Linked DNA regions of Homo sapiens: region 2 is linked to region 1. Evidence: promoter capture Hi-C in 16 types of primary human blood cells and fetal thymus (Javierre and others, 2016). All regions are on one chromosome and are shown on one strand. The core of a region is centred on a gene start or on the middle of the fragment in contact, and the rest is flanking DNA. Distances in the headings are between cores, read along the strand shown. Region 1 holds the start of RASA2 (RAS p21 protein activator 2). Region 2 overlaps PIK3CB (phosphatidylinositol-4,5-bisphosphate 3-kinase catalytic subunit beta).

The links. Contacts are between HindIII fragments. The CHiCAGO score rates a contact against its expected background, and 5 or more counts as called.
Region 2: a fragment that was not itself captured here is called in contact with the fragment with the promoter of RASA2 in region 1 in 1 of 17 cell types (neutrophils); the score reaches 6.1 in neutrophils.

What each region holds. Positions count from the first base shown.
Region 1 is chr3:141,481,030-141,488,276 of GRCh38, forward strand. It overlaps RASA2 (RAS p21 protein activator 2), which reads left to right and starts at 5,998. Exons shown (of 24, transcript NM_006506.5): 1 at 5,998-6,187. The coding sequence starts at 6,055. RefSeq lists a silencer at 5,907-6,786. The HindIII fragment of the contact is 5,296 bases long and covers 4,813-7,247 here.
Region 2 is chr3:138,781,832-138,789,078 of GRCh38, forward strand. The region is part of intron 2 of PIK3CB (phosphatidylinositol-4,5-bisphosphate 3-kinase catalytic subunit beta); the gene reads right to left. Among named protein-coding and RNA genes, the nearest start is that of PIK3CB, 49 kb to the right of the region's middle. The HindIII fragment of the contact is 5,316 bases long and covers 373-5,688 here.

The DNA.
Region 1 (7,247 bases), core at 4,748-7,247:
GCTTCTACAACCACCCACAAAAAATTGTATCTAGCCTACGTTTAGAACACAGATTATGATCGATGAGCTTCTGCTCTCCTTGGCTGTCTCTGACAAAAATGAGCTGCTTGTGACAGACGCAGCCCCAGCCCAGTGTGAGGATTGGAAACCTCAGACCCTGACTCTTTCCCTTTCTCCTTCCTTATCTGACTCCTGAGCTATTATTGCCTTTTCTCTGCACCTAAGCTTTCTGCAAAGCCCAGACCCAGCCAGCTGGTTCTGTGGTCTGCTCTGATTTCCCTTGTGGATTTTAAATTCAGAATTCTAGGCTCATTTGTTAGCAGCTTCTCTGAACACATTATCTCATTTATTTGCTCATTCATTCATTCGTTCATTTATCAAACATTTAATAAGTGCCTTCTGTGTTCTTCTATATTTTCTATGCGCTAGGGAGGCAAAGACAAAACATTGTCCAGTCTTTGAGATGGTTTCAGACAGGTAAACAAACAGGAATAGTAAATGTGTTATGAGCACTACAATGATTATGTGTATTCTTATATACATGGTACATAATGGCCTAAAGGAAAAAGAGGCCAGTTCTGTGAGACAAAGTCAGGAGGTGAAGATTGGGCATTAAATGTATTGAAATATTTTCATTTGAACTTAGGCACTATTATTGGAAGATAAGTATGTTGATATGGTGAACAGAGTTGGCTGCCTACTCCATGTCTTACTGCTCCCCTTTCTGTGTCACAAGAAAACACTGGTTTGGTTCAGGCTTCAGGTCTCAAGTAGCAATGTACTTTGGGAAGGAGGGTTCATCCCCAGACCCAGGGGTATCAATGTTGCTTAGACTAAGAAAATTATATATTCCTTGTGATTGTAAATGAGCCTTAAGAAGATACCTCATGGTGGTGATTTACAGGAAAGCTACCTGGAAAAGCGTTCCTCCCTAATATTAGGTTGGTGCAAAAGTAACTATGATCTTGCCACTGAAAGTAATGAAAAAGACATTTTAGAAAAAAAAAAATACACCTTCCTGCCATTGGATGTTGAGATATTTGGAGGTACAGGAGCCATATTGTGACCATGAGGCAAAAGCCAAAAGAATTGCAAAGAAGCTAACCCAATAAAGTCCTGTTTATGAATGAATACAGAGTAGAAAATGAAACAAGTGAATGGCTGCACAACATTTCCAGTTTTCTTTTTACACTTATTGTTTTGTATGTTTTTATTTGTTTGGTTGGTTTTGAGTTTTGGGGGTTTTTGTTGTTTTTGTTTTTTGATTTGTTTTTTTAATAGATTTGGGGTCTCACTATGTTGCCCAGGCTCGTCTTGAACTCCTGGGCTCAAGTGATCCACCCAACTCGGCCTCTGAAAGTTCTGGGATTATAGGCATGAGTCACCATGCCCAGCCTACACCCATTGTTTTGTTTTATCACTAAAATGACAAGAATGCACTGCAGATGGAATGGATATGGCAAAATAGTTCAAAAGGAGGGGGATTGAGAAATAACTGAAGTCACACTGACCTAAGGGCATCAGCTGTATTGTGCTCAGATATTCAGGCCTTTAAAGTTCTCTTGCAAGAGGTGACAGAATTTGAAAAAAAAAAAATTCTATTTTTAGAGACAGGGTCTCTCTCTGTCACCCAGGCTGGAGTGCACTGGGATGATCATAGCTCACTGCAGCCTCAAATTCCTGAGCTCAAACAATCCTCCCACCTCAGCCTCCTGATTAGCTAGGAGTACAGGCAGGCACGTGCCACCATGCCCAGCTAATTTATTTATTTATATTTGTAGAGACAGAGTCTCACGGTGTTGCCCAGGCTGCTCCTGAACTCCTAGCCTCAGGTGATCCTCCTGTCAAAGTTGGTATTACAACCGACTGTTGGATTACAGGCATGAGCCATCACATCTGGCCTTGAAAATATTTGTACCGAAGGAGTTGGAGGTTTTAAGGTAAAAATTTGTCCACATTTTTGTCCACACAGCCTTGTCAATGGCCTTATTTGGTCTTCAAATGAAATGTTGAAAGTATGTTTTCTGAACATTTAAGGTCTCTCCTCACCTCCTACCACTCCAATTTTATTTTTTAAAATGCCAGTTGGATTTAGAGATTTTTTTTTAATAATGTAATTAGTGCATAATGCTTAACATCAAACAGTACTCTGATGGGGCAAATGGGGAAACCAAGTCATCAATGATCAAAGGAACTTGCTTTCCCACCAGTCCGGCAGAAACAGTTCTGTCTCATGAGTGTCCAGCCCTATGAAAATGATCTACATTTAAATATTAAAAAGAAAGCACATTTCTCTTCCTCCTACTCGCCAGAAAAAATGTAATAAATAACTCAAGGCCAGGAGACAACCCCTTACAATGCCATGTTATAGGTTGGTGGGTGCTGATTCAAAAATATGCCGTAACAGACAAGTTATGGAATTAGTTTCTAGCTGCAGGTTATAGTCTTCTTATTAAGAGACAATGTAGTTTTCCTACATCATCTGCCATAAAGCAAGCCAATGTATGGGTTGAAATGACTGAATGAGTTTAAAACTGGTGAAGAAATAGGAAAAGACATAGTAGTGAATGGTTGCTCATCAGAACGAAGAGTGGTAGGGATAGAAGGGATGGCCTTTAAACACATTCATTAATAATTTGAGGAAGGAAGTGAAGTTCAAGTTTGTGATGATGCAATATTGTTCCAGTTACTAAACATCATGAAGAAAAGAGAGGAACTCTAGATGAATTTAAAACATAATGCAAGGGCAATAAGGGGAATGAGATGTAACAGCCTTCTCGTAATTATACTGTATGTCTTGTTAGTCTTTAGAAAACTTTATTTTCGGCCGGGCGCGGTGGCTCACGCCTGTAATCCCAGCACTTTAGGAGGCTGAGGCTGGTGGATCACGAGGTCAGGAGATCAAGACCACAGTGAAACCACGTCTCTACTAAAAACACAAAAAAAATTAGCCGGGCGCAGTGGCGGGCGCCTGTAGTCCCAGCTACTAGGAAGGCTGAGGCAGGAGGATGGCATGAACCCGGGAGGCGGAGCTTGCAGTGAGCCGAGATCGCGCCACTGCATTCCAGCCTGGGCAACAGAGCAAGACTCCATCTTAAAAAAAAAAAAAAGAAAAGAAAGAAAGAAAGAAAACTTTATTTTCCAAATATTTTATATTAAGGAAACATTGACATTACCCAAGATCTCTTCAAAGTAGGCAAGTATCAGTAAAAACAGAATAATTAGAAGTGACTTCGGATGAAAAAGCAATGGAGTTTGGGGATTTTAGTGAAACGGTATAAGTCCGAAATCTGCAAAAGGAAGACTGTCTGGAAGAACAAAAAAGTGGAGTGTCCCTTTATGTAAAATTGTTTTCATACCTTTAGTGACCATTTAGTAACAGAGTTATGCACTTGGGGTTAAGCTAGTGAAAAGGAAGGGAAGTTAGAAGATTTTGACACTAATGGACAAAGATATTGATACTTTGTCCATTGGATACGTTTGTCCATTGGATACATTTGTCCATTTGTACATTGATACTTTATCCATGGATACATTTGTCCAAAGGTTCAAATAATTTCTCTGTTTATTGGAGAAAGAAATAGATGGATGAGGCATCGCTTGGCCAAGCAGGAGGAAGGCCAGAATCAGGCTGGTGAGAAAAGGGGCTCAGTGTGGCTGGAGATCAGAGGAGTCAGGTACGCTGGATCCAGTTCCAACTCTTGGCTGAAGAATTTGAACTTTAGTCATTTCTAGCATTGTTCATTACCTGTAGTGTGCTCTTGCTAGCTGGCTGAAGGGATAAATGAAGCCACTGATGTCCTCTTGAGCAGGCAACTGATAAGCTCCATTTTTTTTGTTAGGAAAGTTAATTTAAGTGGTATGTAGGAGGAATGAGAGGGATGGGGGACTTATTACCAGAGTTCCAGTCAAAAGCATGAGGTCAGTTACTGAGGTAATCCTACTACGTGCTCAGCATTCCACTAGACACTTAACACCCTGCTCCCAATACTTATTTAATCTTAATAACAACCCTTCAAAGAAGAAAGTTTAGCATTTCCACTTTACTGTTAAAGAAACAGGTTCAACCGGGCGCAGTGGCTTACACCCAGCACTTTGGGAGGCTGACGCGGATGGATCACTTGAGCCCAGAAGTTCAAGACCAGCCTGGGCAACATGGCAAAACCCCATCTCTACCAAAAATACAAAAATTAACTGGACATGGTGGCGCGCACCTGTAGTCCCAGCTACTTAGGAGGCTGACATGGGAGGATAGCTTGAGCCCAGGAAGTTGAAGCTGCAGTGAGCTGAGATCGTGCCACTGCACTCCAGCCTAGGCAACAGAGCAAGACTGTCAAAAAAAAAAAGAAAGAAAGAAAGAGAAGAAACAGAAACAGGTTTAGGAAGGTTGAGTAACTTGCCCAAATGTAAAAGGGGTAGAAACAGGCTCTATGTCTGATTCTAAAAAGGGATGCCTTTAAAAATAAGGGGGAAAAAACCCTGTAACACGTTGATACTCTTTAAATGAGAATAATTTTAACAAGGGCAATGACAGAGAATGGAAAGGAAGGAAGAGATTTCAGCAGAGTCAGAAGGATGTGGCAACTGAAAACAGCATTGGGACAAGGGATAAGAAAAAGTCAAAGTTTCTGGCCTGAGTAACAGTATAAGATGTGAACTCAGATTTGGAAAGGGAGACAGGAAATTAAGTTTTGGACTTATGTTTGAAATGACAGCAAAACATTCATATAAGAGGAAGTGGTTCACTTTATCCAACAAGTGTAAAGATCACATGGGGAAATAGAAGTCACCTGCAACACAGGCAGAACTGGAAGCTTCGCTGGCCAGGTCCATGTTAAACTCTGACCATTCTCTGGGGCTGTCCAGCCTTTGCACAGGCGGCGCGTTTGTCTTCAGTTTTCAGGTTTCCCCGTCCTATTTCTTATCTCCCAGTGCCTCTGGCCTTTTCTGTGTCTCCCTCCAGAATGAGCTGGAGCTCTCTTCATCTTGACCTTTGTGTAGTCTCTGAGGTCTGAGGCCATCACTATGTCTGACCCTCAAAAAATATTTGTTGACTGACTGGCTTATTCCTGTTGTTGCCCTGGAAAAGAATTACCCTGCCCGATTAAGTCACAGTTTCTTCCTTCTTAGGGCAGCGTAGTTAACAACCTCAACACCAGGAAATTGTCTTCCTCATCACATACCAGGGTATTATTCATGCAGTTTACTCACTGTAAAGAGTTCCCTTGAAATAAAGCTAACAATTAGTCAAAGATTTACACATTTCCTAGGGTCAGTCAACTTTTTAACAAAGCCAACTTTTAGTAGTGGTGGCGGTGGCGGGGGGGAGCCCTTCTTTGCTTTTTCTGTTCCTGAAATACAAAAGTGATGGTAAATGCTTCAGAATTTCTCTATGAGAGGGTCTCAGGCACTGCACTCACGCTGGAGTTGGGGGTGGCTGGTCCTTTTCTTGAACCAGGTTTTGCAGAGAATTGGTCCTAGTAAAGAGTATTTGTGTGGGAGGAGTTTGGCTTGCTGGCGGGGAGTATTTGGATAATACTGGAAGAGCCTCAAATGCATCTCTTGCCTCCTTTTGAATAAGATACTTTTGAGGTCCACCCACCTGCCAAATTCCATTCTATTTTCTTCCCACAGGGAGTTTCCCTGATTGGGAAGGGCCTGTATTTCCCGCGAGCGTTAGGAGATGTGCAGGTCTATTCATTGGGGGAGCCCAATTCCCGGGAGGATTTAGGGATCACGGGAGGGCCGGGGCGTTCTCCTGGTGGGGATTTTAAGGCCGCTCAGAGCCACGACTGGGAGCTACCCTTAGCCAGCGCCCCAAGCCGGGAGTACGGTTCTCTGCAGGGTAGCCCGGCTCGGGGGTGGCGAAGGCGGTGAATGGAGACCCGGGGGGGGCGGGGGCGGGGCCGCGGCGGGCGGGGCGGGGCGGGGCGAGTCGGGCCGAGGCCCGGGGGCGGGGCCAGGCGCGCGGCTGGCCTGGGCCTAGGCCGCTGCTGGGCTCCGCCTCGCCCGGCTACGCAGGCGGCAGGGCTGCGGCACGGGCCGGGCGGCACCATGGCGGCGGCGGCGCCTGCTGCTGCGGCGGCTTCTTCCGAGGCGCCAGCGGCGAGTGCGACTGCAGAGCCCGAGGCCGGGGACCAGGACAGTCGCGAGGTTCGAGTGTTGCAGAGCCTGCGGGGCAAGATCTGTAAGCGGGGGCTGGGCTGAGGGGACGCCCTGGCGGCGCTGGGCGCGAGGCTGAGGGGGCGGCGGGTTCGCGGCGGTGGCGGCGCCGAGCTGCGCTGGGATCGCGGGCCCGGGAGGGGGCCTGGGCCGGGCGCGGTTGAGGCTGGAAGGGGGTGTGTTGGGGGGCGGCGTCGCCTCGACGGGGCGGCGTGGGCCGGGGCTGCTGCTCTCCGGAGGGAGTGGGAGCTGGAGATGGGCCTGGGGTGGGAGAGCCCGGGCTGCGCCGGCGTGAGGGGCTCGGTCGTGGGGAGCGGCCTGGACGCGGGGACGCTGGAGTCCGGGGCGCGGCCGGGGGCGCGGTCCGGGGGCGTGAGGAGCTTCCGGCCGCCCTCAGACTCAGGCCTTCGCGCGGCTGCGGGCGCTGGGGAGTGGCCCCGCGGTGGGAGCCGAGCAGTAATTATACGGAGGCGCGGCCCGAGGAGGTGGCGGGCTGGGAAGTGGGGCTGGCCCGAGGGGAGGGGGCTGTTCGTTTCCTGGGCTCGGCGAGCCTGGGAGAGGTTGAAAAAGGCGCCCTGAGCTGCAGGAAACGGGCCGCCCTGGGGCCCGAGTGGCTACCGCGCGGTCTGTTCGCGGGTGAGCGCCCCGGGAGGAGCTCGGCGGGACACCTGTACTTGCCCCACCTCGCTGCGGCCGGGACTTGAATCGAGGGACGGCGTGACAGGCGGGACTAAAGGCAGGATGTAGTGGCTTCCTGTGAGCAGGTCTCAAAACACAATCACCCAGCCCGCACTCAGCCCGCTTAATTCCCTTCCTTCTCATGCGTGTAATTGCTACTTTAGTGAGCGAGCCTACCAGTTGACTAAATACGAAATTTTGCTCAGAGTTGTCCGAGCATTACTGTGGACAGATTATTTGAGTTCTGTCATTTGAACATTTTAGTTTTAAAAACGACCCTTTGGTGTCAGGTTGCCATTTTTTTTTTCACAGTGGTTTATTTAGATGAAGTGCTTTTTGTTTTCTGTTTGTAAGAGAGATCAATAACATTTATTTTTGCATTTGTCGAAAATTAGCATTATTTTCTT
Region 2 (7,247 bases), core at 1,781-4,280, 2.7 Mb before region 1:
GGATCACTTGACGCCAGGCAGTCGAGGCTACAGAAGGCCACGTTAATGCCACTGTACTCTAGCCTGGGTGAAAGAGCGAGACACTGTCTCAAAAAAATTAAAGTTTTAAAAAACAATTCCTATTACCCAACTTTGGTTACAAAACTATCAAGACAATTTCCTTGCACTAAATTGCTAACACAGACCAAATTTATGAATCAATTGACTCAAGCTCTAGCCAACTTTGTTAGATGTTTTAAAATATATTTAAAATTCTTATTTTCCAGAGAAAATGTAGACTATTTAAACAAGTTATATTTCAAAAGCAACTAGTATCATACCAATACATTTGCCTACAACTAAAACTTCAGAATTATTTCATCTCACATTATAAGCTTCCATTTGCTATAAGGCCATGATGCAGTTTGTACTCGGGCCTGGATAAAGCCACAGAGCTGTGAAGACCTTGGGTGTGATAAGAAGGAGAAGACAATGATTAATACTACCTTTAGCATCTCATAATCCTTCAAAATTGAATTGGAACAAGGCGAATGAAGAAACGATGGAAACACTTTGCTTGTGCCTTTTAAATTTAATCACTAAGGAAGAAGGGTGTGTGTGTGATAAATCTCCTGAGTATAGATCCCTTTTCTTATACCTTAGAAATTGAGACCTACAGAAATATGACAACTATACCAAGGTCACTATGGCAGAGACTAATTTTTTTCTTCCACAGTTACAGGATTGTGGCTGGGCACTTAGCGGATACACATTCCAACTTCCTGTGCAATTAGAAGTGGCCATGTACTAAGTTCTTTCCAGTGGAATGTTCAGTGGAAATGACCTGTGTCACTTCAGGTCAGGGCTTAATTTAAGAAAGTTGGTGTGACACTTACACCTTCTCTTTCCTCTTCCACTGGTCATAGTGGAATAGAGGATGACAGAGTCACAAGATGGAAGAAACCATTTGAAAGAGAACCACCTACCAAAGAGGGCCATCCAACTTAACTGTTCCACGAGTGAGAAATAAATGTCTATTAAGTTTGGACCATTATTCATTTTTGGTCTGTTGACAGCAATTTAGCCTTCACTAATTTAGTCAAACACATAATCTAAGTAGCTGCAAGGCCATGATTAAAACCCACATATCCTCCCTCAGTCAGTCCAATATCACTGTTTTCCTTATCACCCTTCATCCAAACAGAAAACAGAATTATGAAGAGCAGTGGGGGATATCATTAATGAGGCTACCATTATGACACCAGCAAATCATTCACTCCTGCTGAAGCTCAACAACTTTTATCCTTGTTCATTACTCTGCACAATGCATTTTAAAATCCCCTGGCAGAAATGAACATATCGACAGCTCTCCTCTTCCTCTGTAATCTTCTGATGAGAATTATTTTATTTTCATAAACAAATGTAGAGGTTAAAACATGTTAATTTGAGGCAGATAAAGAGGGTGATTTTTTTTTTTTTAATTTTTTTTGGGACAGAGTCCCACTCTGCCACCCAGGCTGGAATGCAGTAGTGTAATCATAGTTCACTGCATCGTCAACCTCTGGAGCTCAAATGATCCTCCTATCTCAGCCTCTCAAGTAGCTGGGATTACAGGTGCATGGCACCCAGCTAATTTTTTCATTTTTTGTAGAGACAAGATCTCACTATGTTGCGCAGGCTGGTCTCAAACTCCTGAGTTCAAGTGATCCCCATCCCCCGGCCTTGGTCTCCCAAAGTGCTGGGAATAGAGGCATGAGCCACCATGGCCCATGAGGGTGATATTTTAACAGAGACAATGTAAGACAGGAAATTAGCTAGGCAGGCAAGGAAAGAAAGACTATATGCAAAGACCTGAGAAACCTTAAGCATTTATGGAATTCAACAAGCAGAGTACAGGGGCAGAATGGTACTGGGGAGGCTGGTAGGTCAAATTAAGGTGCTGTTCTTCATGCAAAAGAACAAGAGATTCAATGAAGAATGTCAAACAGATAAATAAAAAATGATAAAATAAACAACTTTTGAAAGTTACAGTGTGAAAAAGAACATATAAAGAACATGAATCCAACAAAAAAAATTGGGATAATAATTAGTTTCCCAAAAGCCCAAATAACCCATAAACATATGGGGGAAAATGTTCAACCTCATTGGTCACCAAGAAAATGTAAATTAAAACCACACTGAGATGCCATTTCATAGATCGTTGCTTATGGGAGAATAAACTGATTTAACCTCTTCCAAAGGGAGTTTAGCATCAAAAATTGCATTACTAGGTATAATATTCTACGAAAATGCTTATCCGGGCCAGGCACAGTGGCTCACGCCTGTAATCCCAACACTTTGGAAGACAAGTGGATCACCTGAGGTCAGGAGTTTGAGACCAGCCTGACCAACATGGTGAAACCCCATCTCTACTAAAACTGCAAAAATTAGCTGGGTGCAGTGGCATGCACCTGTAATTCCAGCTACTTGGGAAGCTGAGTGGAATCACTTGAACCCGGGAAGCAGAGGTTGCAATGAGCTAAGATCACGCCACTGCACTCCAGCCTGGGCAACAGAGAGAGACTCTGTATCAAAAAACAAAAAAAGGCTCTCCCTCTCCCTCCCCCTCCCCCTCTCCCTCTCGTCTCCGTCTCCGTCTCCCACTTTGCACGGTCTCCCTCTGATGCCGAGCGGAGGCTGGACTGTACTACCACCATCTCGGCTCACTGCAACCTCCCTGCCTGATTCTCCTGCCTCAGCCTGAGGAGTGCCTGGGATTGCAGGCGCGCGCCGCCACGCCTGACTGGTTTTTGTATTTTTTGGTGGAGACGGGGTTTCGCCCTGTTGGCTGGGCTGGTCTCCAGCTCCTGACCGCGAGTGATCTGCCCGCATGGGCCTCCCGAGGTGCTGGGATTGCAGACGGAGTCTCGCTCACTCAGTGCTCAATCTTGCCCAGGCTGGAATGCAGTGGCGTGATCTCAGCTCGCTATAACCTCCACCTCCCAGCCGCCTGCCTTGGCCTCCCAAAGTGCTGAGATTGCAGCCTCTGCCCGGCCGCCACCCCGTCTGGGAAGTGAGGAGCGTCTCCCTGGCCACCCATGGTCTGGGATGTGAGGAGCCCCTCTGCCCGGCCGCCACCCCGTCTGGGAGGTGAGGAGCGTCTCTGCCCGGCCACCCCGTCTGAGAAGTGAGGAGCCCCTCCACCCGGCAGCCGCCCCGTCTGGGAAGTGAGGAGCCCCTCCGCCCCGCAGCCGCCCCGTCTGGGAAGTGAAGAGCATCTCTGCCCAGCAGCCGCCCTGTCCGGGAGGTGGGGGGCAGCCCCCGCTCGGCCAGCCGCCCCGTCCGGGAGGGAGATGGGGGGCAGCCCCCGCCCGGTCAGCCGCCCCGTCCGGGAGGGAGGTGGGGGGCAGCCCCCGCCCGGCCAGCCGCCCTGTCCCGGAGGGAGGCGGGGGGAAGCTCCCGCCCGGCAGCCGCCCCCTCCAGGAGGTGGGGGGGCGCCTCTGCCAGGCCGCCGCCCTGTCTGGGAGGTGTACCCAACAGCTCATTGAGAACGGGCCATGATGACGATGGCAGTTTTGTCGAATAGAAAAGGGGGAAATGTGGGGAAAAGAAAGAGATCAGATTGTTACTGTGTCTCTGTAGAAAGAAGTAGACATAGGAGACTCCATTTTGTTCTGTACTAAGAAAAATTCTTCTGCCTTGGGATGCTGTTAATCTATAACCTTACCCCCAACCCCATGCTCTCTGAAACATGTGCTGTGTCCACTCAGGGTTAAATGGATTAAGGACGGTGTAAGATGTGCTTTGTTAAACAGATGCTTGAAGGCAGCATGCTCCTTAAGAGTCATCACCACTCCCTAATCTCAAGTACCCAGGGACGCAAACGCTGCGGAAGGAAGCAGGCAGGGCCCTCTGCCTAGGAAAACCAGAGACCCTTGTTCACATGTTTATCTGCTGACCTTCCCTCCACTATTGTCCTATGACCCTGCCAAATCCCCCGCTCCGAGAAACACCCAAGAATGATCAATAAATACTTAAAAAAAAAAAAAAAAGAAAATGCTTATCTGAGGATATGACATTCACATGAATGTTTAAGGTGAAAGTTTTCATAGTAACAAAAAACTAGGCATAATCCTAATGTACATTAATAGATCAATAAATAATAGTTTACAATAGGAAAAATGAATAAAATACAGCTACACACATCACCATTAATGAACCTTACCAACAATGTTAAAAGAAACAAAAGAATATATATAGCATGACCACATTTACTGGAGTATATGAAGCAAGACTCCATCTCAAATAAAATAAAATAAAAGTAAAATAAAATCAGGCTGGAGCTTCCTCATTTTCCCCAGTTCTCTTCACAGTGTTAAAGAAAACAGTCTCTCCTGGGTGCTCAGAAGCAGCAGAAAGAGAGCTCCAAAGGTTGCTTTAAAAATGTCTCCTCACAAAAATTACAGATTTGTAGTCATGAGCTATATATAATAATCTCCATTCACTAATAATCCTTAAAACTTTGAATAAAAAGTTTAGGTCCTTTTTGAAAATAATGTGATTTTCTATTTAATTTTTTTTTTAAGATGGAGTCTTGTTCTTGTCACCCAGGCTGGAGTATAATGACGCGATCTTGGCTCGCTGCAATCTCTGCCTCCCAGGTTCAAGCCTCAGCCTCCTGAGTAGCTGGGATTACAGGCACGCACTACCATGCCCAGCTAATTTTTTGGATTTTTAGTAGAGATGGGGTTTCACCATGTTGGCCAGGCTGGTCTCGAACTCCTCACCTCAGGTCATCCACCCACCTCGGCCTCCCAAAGTGCTGGGATTACAGGCATGAGCCACCGTGCCCAGCCTGTATTTAAATTTTAAATACTATAAGTTTTATAAAATTATACTTAAAATGTACTATACTATGCATAAAACTGGTAATCCTCCACATAAAACTATTTAATAACATGTGACTATTTAACATGGTTTAAAAAACAGTATTGAGACCAACAAGGCAGCCATTTATATTACCCTTTATGTACTACTTCCTCTATCATGTGGCAGTCAAAAGGCTAAGTGAAATGCTTGCAGCAAAGAAAACAGTTTTGAAAGGTCATGCTATGCAGACAGCCAGAATTTCTTTCACAATATCCTTACTGTCTATGGCAAACTGCATGACAATCTGACCACAGTTATTTTCTGTGTAAAAGTAAAAAGCACACCACATTATCAAAGGACCAGAAACAGTAAGCACTCAACAATATCATCTTTATGAACATTTTTTCTAACTGCGTAAACATCCATACATATTAATGAAAAAGAACCCCGAGGCAAAGACAATGAATTGGAGAAAGAGGAACTTGGAAAAACTGGAAGGCAAGTTTAAACTATACCACTCTGTTTACTCATAGTGTTCACATAACATAAGAAGCTCCTATAGCTGGGCGTGGTGGCAGGTGCCTGTAATTCCAGCTACTCAGGAGGCTGAGGCAGGAGAATTGCTTGAACCTAGGAGGCAGATGCTCCAGTGAGCCGAGATCGCACCACCGCACTCCAGCCTGGGCGACAGAGCAAGACTCCGCTCAAAAAAAAAAAAAAAAAGAAGCTCCTAAAGGAAAACTTTTCAAATTAAGACACATCATTTACAAAGAAAAAAGCCTAATTATAACAATATTGAAGACATTAAGATCATCTTTCAAAATTTCCATTATCTTAATGACAATTGCAAACAAGGTGCAAAGCTTCAAAAACCTCTCTGTGGCAGCTGTAATCCCATCACATTTTTTCCCTTTCATAGCTTTTACTGGTTTATCATTCATCTGAATAGGGAATATATTTTTCCAACAGTTAAGGTAGTACACAATCAATCAGTAAACACAAAAGTGAAAATTTCTCCAGCTCCTTGTAAAATTTCCAAACAGGAGGTTAACAAATGTATTCTTTTTTTTTTTTTTAAAGAAAGAAAAAAAAATCTAGTTTGTTTAATTGCTGTCCTATCCTAAAAGATCATATTCATGACTACACACAGCCAAGTAACATGGACACGGTCCCTGAAGCTTATGGCAAAGCATACTTAAGATTTTTTAAGGCCCCAGAATTTTAATTCCTGTGAAAATCTCTCACTAAAATTTAACTAGAAGACTTTTTTTTTTTTTTTTTTGAGACATGATCTTGCTCTGTCACCCAGGCTGGAGTATAGTGGTATGACCTCGGTTCAGTACAACTTCCGCCTCCCAGGTTCAAACGATTCTCCTGCCTCAGCCTCCCAAGTAGCTGGCTCTACAGGCATGCACCACCACACCTGGCTAGTTTTTGTATTTTTGGTGGAGATGGGGTTTTGCCATGTTGGCCAGGCCGGTCTCTAACTCCTGACCTCAGGTGGTCTGCCCGCCTTGGCCTCCCAAAGTACTGGGATTGCAGGCATGAGCCACCACGCCTGGATGAAGACACCTTTCTTTACCAGTTCTGACCTTGTAGCAGAGCATAAGGATTTGTGCTACTTCTAAAACTACCAGAAAACAGTGTATGATAAACATTCTTTTAAGGAAATAAACTTAAAACATTCCATTATTCAAAAACCACAACTATACTACTGGCTGGGCACAGTGGCTCACGCCTGTAATCCCAGCACTTTGGAAGACCGAGGCGGGCAGATCACCTGAGGTCAGGAGTTGAAGACCAGCCTGACCAACATGGCAAAACCCTGTCTCTACTAAAAATACAAAAATTAGCCAGGCCTGGTGGCATGCGCCTGTAATCCCAGCTACTTGGGAAGCTGAGGCAGGAGAATCGCTTAAACCTGGGAGACTGAGGTTGCAGTGAGCCGAGATCATGCCACTGCACTCAAGCCTGGGTGACAGAGCAAGACTTTGTCTCAAAAAAAAAAAAAAAAAAAAAAAAGGCCAGGGGCGGTGGCTCACCCCTGTAATCCCAGCACTTTGGGAGGCCAAGGCGGGCGGATCACCTGAGGTCAGGAGTTTGAGACCAGCCTGGCCAACATGGTGAAACCCCGTATCTACTTAAAATACAAAAAATTAGCTGGGCATAGTGGTACGCACCTGTAATCCCAGCTACTAGGGAGGCTGAGGCAGGAGAATCGCTTGAACCCGGGAGGCGGAGGTTGCAGTGAGCCCAGATCGTGCCATTGCACTCCAGACTGGGGGAAAAGAGAGAGACTTCGTCTCAAAAAAAAAAAAAAAAAAAAAAAAAAAACAAAAAACAACACCACAGAGTTTTTTTTTTATAAAACCAAACCCAGGCAAGGCTGTGGAGAAACTGGAAATCTTGTGTATTGCTGG